Regions from separate parts of the Homo sapiens genome. Here region 1 is linked to region 2. Evidence: promoter capture Hi-C in human tissues and cell types (Jung and others, 2019). All regions are on one chromosome and are shown on one strand. The core of a region is centred on a gene start or on the middle of the fragment in contact, and the rest is flanking DNA. Distances in the headings are between cores, read along the strand shown. Region 1 overlaps RSRC2 (arginine and serine rich coiled-coil 2). Region 2 holds the start of B3GNT4 (UDP-GlcNAc:betaGal beta-1,3-N-acetylglucosaminyltransferase 4).

Region 1 (2,700 bases), core at 131-2,630, 300 kb after region 2:
GGATATGTATTTGATCTCAATAACTTAATTTCCATTCATTATTGAACACCTCCAAAGGACAAGGCAATGTTCTTTCTAGGTCTGGAATATAGCAGGGTGTAACAAAAGTTAACTTCAGTTTAGTAGGTTGGAAAAAACATAATATGTAGAAGATGTCAGGGTATAAATGCCACAGAGGAAAGTAAAGTAGAAAATGGGGATGGAGGCTGGGCGCAGTGGCTCAGAACTGTGATCCAGGGCTTTGAGAGGCCGAGGTGGAAGGACTGCTTGAGCCTCGAAGTTTAAGGCTGCAGTGAGGTATGACTGCACCACTGTACTCCAGCCCAAGTGACAGAGCAAGCAGAGCAAAACCCCGTCTCTCTCTCTCTCTCCAAGTGTGTGTGTAGGGAGGACAGTGGGTAGGGGAGATGGAAATGTTTCAGAATGGGATTGCTTGTTATTTCACAAAAGGTGGTGGGAAAGAACTCAAAAACGCTGACACCTGAGTAAAGACCAGAACTAAGAAAATGAGGGAAGAACAGTGCAGGAGGGCTAATAGCTAATACAAAGATCCCCTGGCACATGTGAAACTCACCTTAATACCCATCAATTTCCTAAATTTGACATTTTGGTCCTTGTTTCCAAAATTCAATTTTTCCCATATTTCAGCAGATTGGGATTTGTCCTGTTAACAAACACTGAACTTTAAAATATGTAAAATTTAAATATTTTTTAGGACATGAAATCTCTCAACAATGTCTAAATTAAAAAAAAAAACACCATGGATAGCATTCAATCAATGTAAGTTTAATTATTTCAAGACTTAAGAAACCACAAAGCAAAGAAATACAAGCAAGAGGTTGGCGCCGTGCTTCACTCCTATAATCCCAGCACTTTGGAAGGCCGAGGTGGGCAAATCACCTGAGGTCAGGGGATCGAGACTAGCCTGGATGACTAGGTGAAACCCCGTCTCTACTAAAAATACAAAAAACTAGCCTGGCATGGTGGTGGGCACCTGTAGACCCAGGAGGGTCTCAGGAGTCTGAGGCAGGAGAATTGCTTGAACCTGGGAGGCAGAGGTTGCAGTGAGCTGAGATCACACCACTGCATTCCAGCCTGGGTGACAAGAGCAAGACTCTGTCTCAAAAATAATAAAAATAAAATAAAAAAATGGATTATTTTCCTGTCATAGACCTTTTTCAACATGCAATTTTTGCGACTGCATGTCATTTGCATTTAATGTCATTTGTCATTGCAAATAATGTCAAAAAAAAAAAAGTACCTCATAATCTATGAAAAATTCTAAACCAAGTAGCCTCTTTTCCTTACTACTTCTATGGTAATATTAGTTTTCTTTGAAAGCTTGACTTCAATCAATTATGTTTTATTTTAGTATTAATAACTGGCAAATAAGACTATCATAGCTTATTATAAGTTTTTTGAGACAGGGTCTCACCCAGGCTGAAGTGCAGTGGCGTGATTTTTTTTTTTTTTTTCCAGATGGAGTTTCGCTGGAAACTCACTGCAACCTCCGCCTCCCAGGATCAAGTGATTCTCCTGTTTCAGCCTCCCAAGTAGCTGGGATTACAGGTGCCCACCACCATGCCTGGCTAAGTGGCATGATCTTGGCTCACTGTATGTAGGCTCTGCATCCCAGGCTCAAGCGATTCTCCTGCCTCAGCCTCCCAAGCACCTGGGATTACAGGTGTGTGCCACCACACCCAGCTGATTTTTATCTTCTTTTCAGTAGAGACAGGGTTTTGCCATGTTGGCCAGGCTGGTCTTGGACTCCTTACCTCAACTGATCCGCTCACTTGGCATCCCAAAGTGCTGGGATTAAAGGCATAAGCCACCCGCGTCTGGCCACCCCAGGTTCTTACAAAGTTAAGCCGAAAGTAATATTTTTCAACCCAAATTTGTTTTTCTAAGCAATTACTAATTAGGAATAAACGACAGAAAAGCAGAATAAGAGAACTTACCCCTTCTTTCTTGCCCTGCCAAAGCATTTTCCTTTTTTTCTCTTGTTCAGCAAATTTCATTGGATTAACAGCGGCTGGGTTATAGTAGCTAGGAACAGCTATTCCTGTCTCTGCCAAAGCTTTAGCTTGCAGGGCTGCCATCTGAGCTGCCATGGCTATCTGAGGTGTTACTTGTGTTCCTGATGCCAACAGGGCAGCAACATTGAGAACAGAACCTCCAGTAGCTGCAGCTGCTTGAAGAGAATACAAAAATGGATTTTAAAACGATTTTAAAACATAAACCTCCTGATTTACATTAACGAACGATTTATAAAAAGCTATGAATGTGCAAAAAGGCAGGATTTTCACCAAATCCAAGGAAATGACTGAGTATTAGCTCACAAGTTTTTAGCAAACATTTATTGTGTTCATCAACGGACATATTTCTACATAAACCCTTGATATATAAACCATTTATTGCAAGGCGCAGTGGCTCACGCCTGTAATCCCAGCACTTTGGGAGGCTGAGGTGGGCGGATCACCTGAGGTTGGGAGTTCGAGACCAGCCTGACCAACATGGAGAAACCCCGTCTCTACCAAAAATACAAAATTAGCCGGGCGTGGTGGTACATGCCCGTAATCTCAGCTACTCGGGAGGCTGACGCAGGAGAATCACTTGAACCCAAAAGGCGAAGGTTGCAGTGAGTCGAGATCATGCCACTGCACTCCAGCCTGGGCAACAAGAGCGAAACTCCGTATCAAA
Region 2 (2,700 bases), core at 70-2,569:
TTTAATATTACACCAAATTTGACAAGTGGTAATTTCTTAAAGGTTGTTACAATGTGAAAACAATCTATATTGAATTTTTCATAATCAGATTAAAATTCATTAATCTAGTTTGCATTTTGAACGGATATTTTACCATGCAGTTTGTAACATGCATGAGTTACTTGTAAACTACAGGTTAACAGACTTATGCAGATATTCCAACAGTTGACACCTGTCACTATACATTTTCCAAAGATCACGTTCTTTACTATCACCACCCACATCATTAGAAAGGTCTTTGCGTATTGGAAAATTGGTAAATTCATGGTGGCAGATACAATGTTGTCTCATTTTTAGGGCAAATGTTATACATTTATTGAAATGCTTTCAGTTGTTTCCCCTGAAGTGCTATAATTACTTCATTTTTAAGAAAATATCTGCAGCTGGGCTCGGTAGTGTACGCCTGTGATCCTAGCACGTTGGGAGGCCTAGGCAGGCGGATCACTTGAGGTCAGGAGTTCGAGACCAGGCTGGCCAACATGGTGAAACCCCGTCTCTACTAAAACTACAAAAAATAGCCGGTCGTGGTGACAGGCGCCTGTAATCCCAGCTACTTGGAGGCTGACGCAGGAGAATCGCTTGAACCTGGGAGGCGGAGGTTGCAGTGAGCCGGGATCATGCCACCGCACTCCAGCCTGGGCGACGGAGCACGACACTGTCTCAAAGCAAAAAGCAGCCAGTCTTGCAACTCAAACAGCTGCGATTTATTAAATGATCTAATTAAATACAATTTAATTTTATTTCTTATTACTGTTAACACCCGAGGACCAAAACTGTGCTCCCGCTGGGACAGGGTCCAGGGCTTGCATATGGGATGGGTCAGGGCGGCCGAGAACGCCAGCCCATCCGTCTCCCGGGGCTCATGCTCGCACTTAAATTTTCTCAGAAAAGCCGAAAGCCGTGATTCCGATCTACGAAGGCGATTACCACCCTGAGCCCCTGACCGTAGAGGTGCAGATCCAGCTGAACCAGTGCCGCTCGGCGGAGGAGGCTCTGCGCATGTTCGCCGTGTAGGGCGTGGGCAGTAAAGGCTGTTCCCAGCACTCCCGCCTCCGCTTCTGTCCCGCCGCACGCGTCGGGGGGCGGGTGTGGCGCCGGCGTCCTGGGGAGGAGGAGCAGCCTCTGCCCGACCCGGCTCGTGCGGACCCCAGGACCGGGCGCGGGACGCGTGCGTCCAGCCTCCGGCGCTGCGGAGACCCGCGGCTGGGTCCGGGGAGGCCCCAAACCCGCCCCCGCCAGAACCCCGCCCCAAATTCCCACCTCCTCCAGAAGCCCCGCCCACTCCCGAGCCCCGAGAGCTCCGCGCACCTGGGCGCCATCCGCCCTGGCTCCGCTGCACGAGCTCCACGCCCGTACCCCGGCGTCACGCTCAGGTAGGTTGGGGGCCGGGACGCCGCTGCTGTGAGGGAGGCTGGGTCACCGTGCAGGGAGGGGCGTCGCCAGGGCGGCCGTGCCTTTGCACCCCGCGGCCCGCTCCCCGGTCCCCCAGGGTCCCCGCGAGGACGCCGGCCCCGCCCGGGTGCGGCGCGAGTCTGGCCTCGGCGGGCACGGCTCGGGGCCCACGGGCCGCTCGGCTTCGGTTCTCCAGGCTGGGGACAGAGGCTGGAGCCGGGCGCGGTAGACCCCGCCAGCCTGGGCCGCCCGCGCCCGACGCGCAGCGCTGCTGCCAACCCCGGCCCGGGGGTCCCCGCAGAGTGGGTCTCTGCTGCCGTCAGCCCTTCGGAGACTGTCGCGTTGAAAGAATGAACCAGAGTTCGCCCCCTGCCCGCGCCAGGGCGTTTTGGGTCACCGAGTCCTGTGGGGATCCGAGGCGGCTGCCGCCCAAGGCCGAGCGCAGCCTCAGGACCCGCGCCCCACCAGACGGGGTCGTGCGCTCCGCGGCGGGTGGAGAGCCGGGCTCTGGGGTCTCCGCGGCTCGGAGGGCGGCGGGGCGAGGCCGTGCGGCCAGCGCCTGGGGACGCCCGCGGCGGGACAGGGGCCACCCGGGCCGCGGCGCAGCCTGGGCTGAAACCTCCTGGGACGGAACCAAGCCACCTGCTGTGCGCCCTTCTCGGTGAATGGCACCGCCGCCCGCCCGGGCCTCTCGTCCACAGCCCGCGGTGCTCGCACACCTGAGACTCATCTCGCTTCGACCCCGCCGCCGCCGCCGCCCGGCATCCTGAGCACGGAGACAGTCTCCAGCTGCCGTTCATGCTTCCTCCCCAGCCTTCCGCAGCCCACCAGGGAAGGGGCGGTAGGAGTGGCCTTTTACCAAAGGTCAGATTCTTTCACCGCCTCTGCCAGACCCCCTTGTCCCCCACCCCCGCATAGATCTCCAGGGGGCTCAGAAAACTCTGGCCGGTGGCTCACGCCTGTAGTCCCAACGCTTTGGGAGGCCAAGGCGGGAGGATCGCTTGAGGCCAGGAGTTCCAGACCAGCCCAGGCAACAAAAGATACCACATCTCTACAAAAAATAAATTAGCCGGGCCCTGCACGCCTGTAGTCCCAGCTACTGGGGAGGCCGAGGCCGGAGGATCGCTTGAACCCAGGAGTTCCAGGCTGCAGTGAGCTATAATTGTGCCACTGCACTAGAGTCTGGGTGACAGAGACACTGTCTCAAAAAAAACCAACAAAACCCTTAGCTCTTTCACTAGCCGGGCTGGCCTCTTCCTACTGTAAACC

The links. The method cuts DNA at HindIII sites, captures the fragments that hold promoters and counts their contacts. A contact is called where the count stands out against the background at its distance.
Region 1: a contact is called between a fragment that was not itself captured here and the fragment with the promoter of B3GNT4 in region 2, in 1 of the 25 tissues and cell types used here (dorsolateral prefrontal cortex).

Annotation. Positions count from the first base shown.
Region 1 is chr12:122,506,260-122,508,959 of GRCh38, forward strand. It overlaps RSRC2 (arginine and serine rich coiled-coil 2), which reads right to left. Exons shown (of 10, transcript NM_023012.6): 8 at 1,959-2,188; 9 at 575-664. Among named protein-coding and RNA genes, the nearest start is that of ZCCHC8, 6.7 kb to the left of the region's middle. The HindIII fragment of the contact is 4,115 bases long and covers 1-2,700 here.
Region 2 is chr12:122,202,390-122,205,089 of GRCh38, forward strand. B3GNT4 (UDP-GlcNAc:betaGal beta-1,3-N-acetylglucosaminyltransferase 4) reads left to right here and starts at 1,320. Exons shown (of 3, transcript NM_030765.4): 1 at 1,320-1,412; 2 at 2,133-2,295. The coding sequence starts at 2,230. It overlaps LRRC43 (leucine rich repeat containing 43), which reads left to right. Exons shown (of 12, transcript NM_001098519.2): 12 at 926-1,082. The coding sequence ends at 1,053. RefSeq lists a silencer at 1,005-1,634. The HindIII fragment of the contact is 16,495 bases long and covers 1-2,700 here.